Regions from separate parts of the Homo sapiens genome. Here region 1 is linked to region 2. Evidence: promoter capture Hi-C in 16 types of primary human blood cells and fetal thymus (Javierre and others, 2016). All regions are on one chromosome and are shown on one strand. The core of a region is centred on a gene start or on the middle of the fragment in contact, and the rest is flanking DNA. Distances in the headings are between cores, read along the strand shown. Region 1 holds the start of TDP2 (tyrosyl-DNA phosphodiesterase 2). Region 2 holds the start of H2BC3 (H2B clustered histone 3).

Region 1 (5,566 bases), core at 19-2,518, 1.4 Mb after region 2:
GGAGGCGGAGGCAGGCGTTTCACCTGAGGTCGGGAGTTCGAGAGCAGCCTGACCAACATGGAGAAACCCTGTCTCTACTAAAAGTACAATATTAGCTGGGCATGGTGGCGCATGCCTGTAATCCCAGCCACTCGGGAGGCTGAGTGAGGCAGGAGAATTGTTTGAACCAGGGAGGTGGAGGTTGCAGTGAGCCGAGATCGCGCCATTGCACTCCAGCCTAGGCAACAAGGGCGAAACCTCATCCTAAAAAAACAAAAACAAACAAACACCTTCGGGCTTTGTGAGTGCTGGTCTCAGAAAAGCACTCAGTCTTCCTCCAAGGGCTAACTTACTTCTTCAGGAGTTGGGTGCCTTTGAGAAATTTCCCAAACCACTACAGAGGAACAACTTCTCCCTTCGTTCACCACTCTACCAAGCACTTGGCTTTTGTACCTTATTGCAATTATTTATCTTCTAATCTTCTAGAGCCTAGAGAATTAGACTGTAATGTGCCTTAAATGCAGAGGTTTCTCTTACTCTTCTCTGGAGCAATGCAGACGTTTGTTGGTTGAAGGATCAAACTCCAAAGTCCCTCCCAGCCTTGGAACTGTCTCCACGAGTCATAACCATACTTATCTATGTTTAGATAGAGAACTTACGCGTTCGACCCAGCATATTTAGGGGCTCCATTAAAGTAATAATCATTATTACTAAGGTGAATTTACAGGCGTACTAGAACACAACCTAACAAGAGATAATTATTCAAAGCTCACAACGGCACCAAGCACGGTGCTTTCTTTTCCTTCATTAGAAGCCACGGCTTCTCCCCTACCTTTCCCATACCTTTCCCAAAACTCTCTCAAAATTGCGAGCCTTGGTCATGGCCTTTATCACCTCCCGCAGAGACTGAGTCATGCTGGTCATCGTGGACGGTTTTCCAGCCTTTGGGCTTTGCGCAAGAACGAACTTCGGAAGAGCTGGAAAGTCCAGAAGTTAGTGAAAGAAGGAGGACACAAAGGGCGAAGAGCCCGCACCCTTCTCCGCCCCTAGGAGCGCAAGAGGCCGGGAGTCAGGCGAGCTGGCAGCCCCGGTGGTCCGCGATTTGCTCACTGACTTTCCTCGCACCCTTGTGACGAAGCGCGCATGCGCGCTTCGCACCCACCGCCCCGGCGGCTCCCTTGCGGCGCAGCTGCACCAGTTTTCCGAGAGCAGCGCATTTCCCCGCCGGGCGGTTGATGCGGGAGCGCCATGACACAGGCGCCTGCGCAGAGCCGCGCGTTGGCCTCCTGTTCCGCTTAAAGGGGCGGTGCAGAGGCGGCAGGAAGATGGAGTTGGGGAGTTGCCTGGAGGGCGGGAGGGAGGCGGCGGAGGAAGAGGGCGAGCCTGAGGTGAAAAAGCGGCGACTTCTGTGTGTGGAGTTTGCCTCGGTCGCAAGCTGCGATGCCGCAGTGGCTCAGTGCTTCCTGGCCGAGAACGACTGGGAGATGGAAGTACGCTTTCGCTGTCCTCGCTTCCGGCTCCATTACCTAGGTCGGTGGAGCGCACAAACCTCATCCCTTGTGCCTTTGTTTTTCAGAGGGCTCTGAACTCCTACTTCGAGCCTCCGGTGGAGGAGAGCGCCTTGGAACGCCGACCTGAAACCATCTCTGAGCCCAAGACCTAGTAAGTGATGAGGGGAGCGGGAGCCAGTCCGCACGGAGGCAGTTTGATACCAGGTAGCCCTGCGCGTCCTGGGACCTGCCGTGGAGCTGGGCGGACGATGCTGAGGCAGATCTCCAAGCTGCGTAGCCAGAGGAGCAGGGCTTGCGTTGCTGCTGCTGCGCGGAGTTGCGCCCCAGCAGCGGATCTAACACTGCACCAGACTGTCGCTTCGAACGTGATTTGGGGTCCAGGGAGGAAAAGATGGAAATGTAATGTTTAACTCAAATGAAAGGAAATAAGTAAGCGAGAGGTTTGAAACAAATGAACGAAGGCTAAACCTTCTATCGAAAAATGGCAACTTGGAAGTCTCCTTGCTTCCTGTATTGTTTATTTATTCTAGGCCCTAGGCTGACCGGCCAGAATAACAGGTTTGTTGTTGTTGTTATTTTTTTTTAATGCACACCTACTCCTGTTATTTCAGTGCCCCTCTCCAGTTCCTGCACTTAAAAAGTGTAGCTGCCTTACAAGGCCCTCTACTATTTGGCTCCATAACTTAGAACCTGCCTTTCCAGGTTCCAGGCCTATCAAACTTTTACTTTTTTCCAACGGGTCATTTTCTCCTGTCTTTGAAACTTCGTAAAGATCTTTATTACCTGTGCCTGGAATTTTTTTCTTTTCCCTTCCTTGCTAATATTTGTCTTAAAGCCCCAAGCTGAGACATGATTTATCTCTAGGAAGCTTTTCCTGATGTCCTAAGTCTGGGTAAGAGTCCCCTTTTAGGTACTCTTATAGCATCCTGCATGACCCCTGTTACAATACCTTAGTCCGTATTATAATTGCTGTTCATTATTTTATGTCTCCTACTAGACTGCACATCTAGTAAGGAGTATCTGTTTTGTACATTGTTAATTTCCCAAAGTCTGACACAACATTTGACACATAATAAGCTCCCAATAAATATTTACTGAATGTATAAAATTCTCCCAGCTATATGTACAACCTGTAAAATTGACTGTTCATAGTGGAGACTTTATTTTCCCTTTGGTCTTTTCAGCTACACTGGCTTACAGATGTGATAAGATATTTTCTTTAGGTTCCTTTCTCTGTCTTGCCTCTTGTTGGGGAATTGTTTACTCACCCACAGTGATTTGTCTCTGGCTCCCGTTTTACTAACCAGAGCAAGTTGGACTAGGAGGTGTTTGCCTAGCTCAAACTGGCCAGTCAGATCCTCTCCTTGGTTTCAGAATTAGGACCAAGAGAGTCAAGTCTGAGTCTTCCTATGGAGCTGGAACTGTAACATGTTAACTTAGCACCTGTGAGGATTCATACATATCTTTTTTTGTGTACAGAGAAGCTGAGAACAGAGGTCTGCAGAGAGACAATGAAGCAGAGGGAAGTTGAAGTGTAGGATTGAGAGAAAGCCCTTAACTGCCCTTCCTTAAACATGGCTGTATTTCTGTACCAGGCTCTGTGACATGTTTGTTTCCTTATAAATTCTCCTGTTTTGGTCAAACCAACCTGAGTTAATGTCTGTTGGTTGCAACAGACTATATTGTAACCAATAAATAGTAACAAAATAAGTGGATTTCCTGTAATAGGCCCTCAGAAAAGATGCGGATCAAGCTGATCAATGGTGTCATGGCTATTAGGATTCTCTTACCCCGGAATGGTAAATTGGCAAAAACAAGCAAAGGTGTTGATTAGGCTGTGGTCTCTTGTCTCTCAGAACTCAGGTCAAGTATGAATGAGAGTGAGGTTTTAAAGTTTAGTTTGCTCAAGAGAGAAAAATGGGGAAGGGGCAAACTTCAGCGTGTTTCTAAGGCCTGTGACCTGATTAGATTTTTGATGTTGGCTTTAGCAAAAATGAAAGGGAAAAAAAAATTGATTGGAAGATTTTATGACCAGAAAAACTCAACCCTGCTGAGCAAGGGCATTGGCTGTCTTAAATGAATGGCGCAGGAATCTCAATTCTGGAGTGAATTCCTGGGATATCAACAAAAATTGAAATTGAACACTAAAGTGATTTAGTCCCCTACATTAGAATCTATCTTCAGTGTCTCTGATGAGAGACAAGGGAAATCCTCTTAAAACAGCTATGCTGAATCTTAGCTGCATATTGGAATTATCTGGGGAATTTAAAAAAAAAACCAGAGATTCTAATTTCATTAGTCTTGAGTGGGGCCCATTATTCCTTATTGGCTTTTTTTTTTTTTTTTATTAGCTGTGCAGGTAATTCTAATGCAGAGCCAGCATTGAAAGCCCGTGTCCCAGAGCCTTGTTATTTAGAGTGTGGACTCTGGACCAGCAGCGTGCCACTGCTACTCGGGAATTTGTTAGACATGCAGAATCTTAGGTCTCACCCAGACCTACTGAATCAGAATCTGTATTTTGACAAGATCTCCAGGTGATTTAAAATTGAGGAGCACTGGCCTAACACATAAAACCTAAGACACCAGATATACTGACAAAAGCACTTCCTCCTCTGCTTAGGAATGAAGTCAACAAATCATGCCCCTAAAGTTTGCCAGTCCCTTTCTGTTCCCTTAGTATTTCTGTACAGCAACGTTTTAGAGTTTATTTCCCTTTTCATTTTTCCAAAAGGAAATTTTTAATACAGTTGCCTGGTTTTTCTTGCTGCATTAAATATTAAATATTGTGGGTGTTGCATAAATTGCAGAGATATTTGTATTAGGTTCTTGTGTTGCTATAAATACCTGAGACTGGGTAATTTATAAAGAAAAGAGATTTAATTGGCTAACAGTTCTGCAGGCTCTACTGGAAGCATGGCCCCAGCCTCTGCTGGGCCTCAGGAAGATTTCAATCATGGCAGAAGGGAAAGGGGAGCCCAGGTATCACATGGAGAGCGCAGGAGCAAGGGGGTGGGGTGGTGCCACATACTTTTAAACAACCAGATCTTGCAAGAAGAACTCAGTATCGTGAAGATAGCACCAAGACATTAATGAGGGATCTGCCTCCATGACCCAAACACCTCCCACTGGACCCCACTACCAACATTACGGATTATATCTCAACATGAGATTTGGAGGGGACAAACATCCAAACTATATCAATATGGAATTGGATTACAATGAAACAGAGGAGGAAAGGATGGCATAGTGAATAAGAGCATGGACTCTGGAGCCAAAATGCAAAGGTTATAAGTCCACCTGTGCTATTTAGTAACTGTGTAACTTCTCTCTGCCTCAATTTCTTTGTGCAGTGGGGATAGTAATATGGTTCTGAGTCTACCTGTGCTATTTAGTAACTGTGTAACCTCTCTCTGCCTCAGTTTCTTTATCTGTGCAACCCCTTCCTCATGGGGTTGTTGTAAGGATTAAGTGAGCTAATAGATGTAAAACACTTGGAATTGTGCCTGGCATATAGAGCTCAGTAAGTATAAGCTATGATTAATGACACCATCATGCTCTCCCCATACATCACCCATGACAGTCCACCTGTTGAGGAAAGTAGGGGTTGTGTTTACAGTTTTATGAGGTAGATTGAGTTATAGTTGGATATCTTTAAACTTGGAAAAAAAGGTGTGTGTGCCGGATAGGTAAGGGGCCTGATGTGATGAGCAAACACCTTTGTCTATGATAGTATATATATTTTTAAATTCAGCTATGAAACAGAAGATTTGACAGAAATAAAGAGCTAATAATTTCTCCTTTCTGGTTTTAATGCTTTTCATAAAAAGGAAATAACATCTTTGATCAGGCATGGAATCACTTGGCTTTTTCTCTCTGGTGGTAAGATGAAGGGGGCCAGCCCCTCCACACCTGTGGGTATTTCTCTTCAGGTGGGACGAGAGACTGAGAAAATAAATAAGACGGAGAGACAAAGTATAGAGGAAGAAAAGTGGGCCCAGGGGACCGGCGCTTAGCATACGGAGGATCTGCATGGGCACTGGTCTCTGAGTTCCCTCAGTATTTATTGATCACTATCC
Region 2 (5,368 bases), core at 1,638-4,137:
TTGCATTTTTAATTTTACATTATAGTTTTTAATAGTTAACAAGTTGTAAAAGGTTTGATCCCCAGAAAACCTTGATCTACCCCATCAGTTAAGTATACTAATATATTTAGAAAATGGATGAAATCAGCATTTGAATATTTTTAAATATTTATTAAAAGAGGACATGGGTAAAAGAGCTTTGCAGTTGCCACCCTTCATTCTCAAATTCCCTGGATAAGGATGACCGCATAATCTTTGGATGGTCATACGCAAGTCTTGTGTACTTGTTACATAAATCTATTTAGTGGACTTTTGGCAGTGTGTACTGAGGCCAGTTTCTTCCACCTGAGCTCTGACTCCACCTCCAGCAGCCCAAAACCAATACTGAATTTTGGGGTCAGCTATTGTTTTTGTGGACTTAGGTAACTACACACACATTGTCTTTATGATAGCTTTAATAATACTGCCATCAGAACTAAAATTGTCACGTGGATTAAAAGGAGTGACGGTGGTGTCCCCAGGAGCCTTTCAATATGTAAGTATTTACACATATACATGCTAAAAAGACCCCTAGGAATTTTTTAACAAGGGCAAAACAGTAACTCAGCTTGTTTTCTCGCAGTAAAACCGGTTGAAAAGGCCTGATAGACTTGTCTGCAGTTACAAAACTTGTGTGTAGTTATCACCTTTATATCTCCTGGAAACTAACATAGACAACCGAATGGGTTACAACTGTTTTTAAGTGAAATTGTGAGTGGCTCTGAAAAGAGCCTTTTCAATGAGGAAGAAACGGGCAGACTTATGCCCTTTCCCCACGGATGCGACGTGCCAGCTGGATATCTTTGGGCATGATGGTGACGCGTTTAGCGTGAATAGCGCACAGATTGGTGTCTTCGAAGAGTCCCACCAGGTAGGCCTCACAAGCCTCCTGCAGCGCCATCACCGCAGAGCTCTGGAAACGCAGGTCGGTTTTGAAGTCCTGGGCGATTTCTCGCACCAGGCGCTGGAACGGCAGCTTCCGGATCAGCAGCTCGGTGGACTTCTGGTAGCGACGGATTTCGCGCAAGGCCACGGTGCCCGGGCGGTAGCGATGAGGTTTCTTCACGCCACCGGTGGCCGGAGCGCTCTTACGGGCTGCTTTAGTAGCAAGCTGCTTGCGCGGAGCTTTGCCGCCGGTAGACTTGCGAGCTGTTTGCTTCGTACGAGCCATTTGCAATGAGAGCACACACAAAAGTGTAGTGAACTGAGAGCAAGTGGCCTTTAAATATAGTGAGAAACATTCTGATTGGTCCTGTAATATTTCAAAAGTCCCGCGCGATAAAATCATTGGCTGAAGAGTGACCAGACTGATTGGTTCATTACTAGACAATCTTATTGGATGAGTTGCCCCACCGCCCATCCTGTCCTTTTCGTTTCAGTTATCTGCAGCGACAAATTGTCTAAAATTCTAGTTCATCCAGTCCCAAAGAACAGAGTGTATAACAAGGTATCTAAGGATTTTTAAAATGTAAATTCCGATTCAGTAAGTTTGAGTGGGACTTGAAATTCTGCATTCCTGACAGTCTCGCAAGTTATCAATGCTGGTGAACACTCACTAAACCACCAGAAACGTTCAGACTCATGTCGGGAAATAACGCTTATATTCAGAGAATGAGATTCCATGCTATTTTGTTACTGGCGAACAGCAAGTTTCCTTGCCCTTTGTTTTCTAAGTCCAAGTCACATTCCCACCCTGCCTGTTCTCAAAATGTCTTATTTTGGTTGGCCTTAAGTTTCACTTTGTATACTCTAAAATGTACTTTCTAAAGGAAGGTGTTATTTTCTCGAAACTTAACTTTTTAACACCATTAGGCTAGGGGGGCGGTGGCTCACGCCTGTAATCCCAGCATTTTGGGAGGGCGAGATGGGACGATCACTAGAGGCCAGGAGTTCAAGACAACCCTGGCTAAAATGGTGAAACCCCGTCTCGCATAAAAATACAAAAACTAGCTGGGCGCGGTAGCAGACGCCTGTAATCCCAAGTACACAGGAGGCTGAGGCATGAGAACCGCGTGAAGCGGCGGGGTGGAGGTTGCAGTAAGCCGATATCGCGCCGCTGCACTCCAGCCTGGGTGACAGAACTAGACTGTCTCAAAACAAACCAATCCAAACGAAAAGCAAAAAATACCCTAACAGAAGCAAGTTATCATCCTTTCTTGTGTAACTATGGACGGCTCTGAAAAATGCCGTTTCAAGTGTAAGCTACGTTTTCTGATTTGAGTGTTTACTTGACCTTGGCCTTATCGTGGCTCTGTTATTTTGGCAACAGGACGGCCTGAATATTGGACAGGACGCCTCCCTGAGCAATAGTGACGTTGCCCAGCTGCTTGTTGACCTCCTCGTCGTTTCGGATGGCCAGCTGCAGGTGGCGGGGGATGATGCTGCGGGTCTTGTCACGTATGGCGCTGCCCACCAGTTCTAAGATCTCGGCGGCCAGGTATTGTAAGTACACTGGCGCACCGGCTCCGACCGGCTCAAAATAATTGCCCTTTCGAAAAAGATGACGGACTCTGCCCTATTGGGAACTGCAAGCCCGGTAGCGACGAACAAGTTTTTGCTTTAGCTCCATTTTCCACGTCCGCAAATAGCGACCTATGAAAGCAGCGGAAAACTGTGAAAGACAAGCAAGCTGGAATGGCGCCTGAACAAATCCTTTTATACAAACTGCAAGGCTGCAATAGGAAGCTATCCTATTGGTCAATTATGTTTGGTGCTTTATCCAATAGAAAAAGATAACATAAATTCCATATTTGCATAAACCCCACCCCTCAGTGAAACCGTGTTTCTTTTGTCCAATCAGAAGTGAGGAATCTTAAACCGTCATTTGAATCTCAGGACTATAAATACATGGGCTCTGAACTGTTCTCTGTACTACTCTGTAGTGGAGAGTGTTAGTAGCTTTTCTATTCTGTTTAGGAATAGCAATGCCTGAACCCTCTAAGTCTGCTCCAGCCCCTAAAAAGGGTTCTAAGAAGGCTATCACTAAGGCGCAGAAGAAGGATGGTAAGAAGCGTAAGCGCAGCCGCAAGGAGAGCTATTCTATCTATGTGTACAAGGTTCTGAAGCAGGTCCACCCCGACACCGGCATCTCATCCAAGGCCATGGGGATCATGAATTCCTTCGTCAACGACATCTTCGAGCGCATCGCGGGCGAGGCTTCTCGCCTGGCTCACTACAATAAGCGCTCGACCATCACCTCCAGGGAGATTCAGACGGCTGTGCGCCTGCTGCTGCCTGGGGAGCTGGCTAAGCATGCTGTGTCCGAGGGCACTAAGGCAGTTACCAAGTACACTAGCTCTAAATAAGTGCTTATGTAAGCACTTCCAAACCCAAAGGCTCTTTTCAGAGCCACCTACTTTGTCACAAGGAGAGCTATAACCACAATTTCTTAAGGTGGTGCTGCTGCTATTCTGTTTCAGTTCTAGAGGATCAACTGGAATGTTAGCGAAGACAAGTTTTAGAGCCAAGGTTAACTTGGACGGGGCCGTGCGCGGTGCCTCTTGCCTTTAATCCCGGCAATTTGGGAGGCCGAGGCGGGCGGATCACGAGGTCAGGAGATGGAGACCATCCTGCTTAACACGATGAAACCCCGTCTCTACTAAAAATACAAAATAATTAGCTGGGCGTGATGGTGGGCGCCTGTAGTCCCAGCTACTCGGGAGGCTGAGGCAGGAGAATGGCGTGAACGCGGGAGGCGGAGCTTGCAGTGAGCCGAGATCGCGCCATGGCACTCCAGCCTGGGTGACAGAGCGAGACTCCGTCTCAAAAAAAAAAAAAAAAAAAAATTAAAAAAATATGAAGTTTTGAAGCAGAAATTATTTTGTCGTATGTTCTTTCATAAATTTTTTGCCTGCCTGCCTTCTTCCTTTGTTACAGAACTCCAACACTTACCCAAAGGTAGCTGTTGGGTCAGGGTTTCTGTACTATAGTCCCTTCTGTGGTGGCCAGAAATATGTTACAGGAAAGAGGTCCCCATCCAGACCCCAAGAGAGGGTTCTTGGATCCCGCGCAAGAAAGAGTTCAGGGTGAGTCCGCAGTGCAAAGTAAATGCAAGTTTACTAAGAAAGTAAAGTGGTGAAACGACAACTACTCCATAGACGGAGCAGGACATTCCCGAAAGTAAGAGGAGGAAGGCATCCACCCTAGGTACAATACTTGTATATATGGGGAGATGTGCTCTGCTACAAGTTTGTGATAAAGGATTAATTTTCTTAGTTACTATATTTTGCAAGAATCAACATTATTATCTTTAAACAAAATTAAGAATGCCTTTGTTCTCCAGATATAGGGATATCTGGACACTCCTAAGTCTGAGTCTGTTTAGTAAACATTATTTATTTGTTCCCTTAACCGTAAACATCTAGAAGCTAGGAATGACTGACTTTCTGGGAATGCAGCCCAGAAAGTCTCAGCCTCATTTTCCTAGCCCTCACTCAAAATGGAGTTACTCTGGTTCAAGTAACTCTGACACTTTTCTTCTCTTTTTTTCTTCTTTTTTCCTTCCTTTATTTTTTATTTTTTATTTTTGAAATAAGAAATCAAGAATACTTGATGTTTCATCTAAAACAATACCCATAATTGATAAGCCAAAACAAAAACCTAGGTCTTCTAACTCAAAACTAGGATGTTTTGCTGTCTCTGCTGATACTCGGCTGATCGTTAATAGGTAATTAACAAACAAGCCTTGCTATGTCCCCCTCAGTTTATTACCATTAGATCATATGCCTACTGTCAATCATATTAATCCACAACTATGCATTTCACAAAACTTGCCATAAAAATTCACAGGTTTCCCGCTTCCCTCGAGTTTTCATTTCCGAAGGGTCCCATGTAATATAAAACTTATATTAAATACATTTGTATGCTTTTCTCTTGCTAATCTTTTTTTTTGTTTTTTGAGACTGAGCCTTGCTCTGTCACCCAGGCTGGAGTGCAATGGCGCGATCTCGGCTCACTGCAACCTCCGCTTCCCAGGTTCAAGCGATTCTACTGCCTCGCCCTCCCGAGTAGCTGGGACCACAGATACGTGCCACCATGCCCCGCTAATTTTTGTATTTTTAGTAGAGACAGGGTTTCACCGTGTTGGCCAGGATGTTCTCAATCTCCTTACCTCGTGATCCGCCCGCCTCGTCCTGCCAAAGTGCTCGGATTACAGACGTGAGCCACTGCACCCGACCAATCTGTCTTTTTGTAGAGGGGCCTCAAGCATGAACTTACTGATGGGTGAGAAAAACAGAATTTTCTTTTCCCCTACAATATAAACATTAATTGTAATGTTATCATTCAGGACATTTTGGTGACCAATCTTACAGAAATTTTATCTTGTGCAAGTCTATGCAAACCAATATGT

What was found. Contacts are between HindIII fragments. The CHiCAGO score rates a contact against its expected background, and 5 or more counts as called.
Region 1: a contact is called between the fragment with the promoter of TDP2 here and the fragment with the promoter of H2BC3 in region 2, in 1 of 17 cell types (M1 macrophages). The highest score is 6.7, in M1 macrophages.

What each region holds. Positions count from the first base shown.
Region 1 is chr6:24,662,601-24,668,166 of GRCh38, reverse strand. TDP2 (tyrosyl-DNA phosphodiesterase 2) reads left to right here and starts at 1,268. Exons shown (of 7, transcript NM_016614.3): 1 at 1,268-1,469; 2 at 1,556-1,641. The coding sequence starts at 1,305. ACOT13 (acyl-CoA thioesterase 13) reads right to left here and starts at 1,090. Exons shown (of 3, transcript NM_018473.4): 1 at 823-1,090. The coding sequence starts at 903. RefSeq lists enhancers at 1,052-1,346, 878-1,549, 1,550-2,222. The HindIII fragment of the contact is 8,130 bases long and covers 1-2,360 here.
Region 2 is chr6:26,041,232-26,046,599 of GRCh38, reverse strand. It overlaps H2BC3 (H2B clustered histone 3), which reads left to right and starts at 2,887. Exons shown (of 1, transcript NM_021062.3): 1 at 2,887-3,373. The coding sequence starts at 2,943. The coding sequence ends at 3,323. H3C3 (H3 clustered histone 3) reads right to left here and starts at 1,216. Exons shown (of 1, transcript NM_003531.3): 1 at 731-1,216. The coding sequence starts at 1,189. The coding sequence ends at 779. It also overlaps the pseudogene H2AC5P. RefSeq lists enhancers at 854-1,173, 2,404-2,643. The HindIII fragment of the contact is 16,277 bases long and covers 1-5,368 here.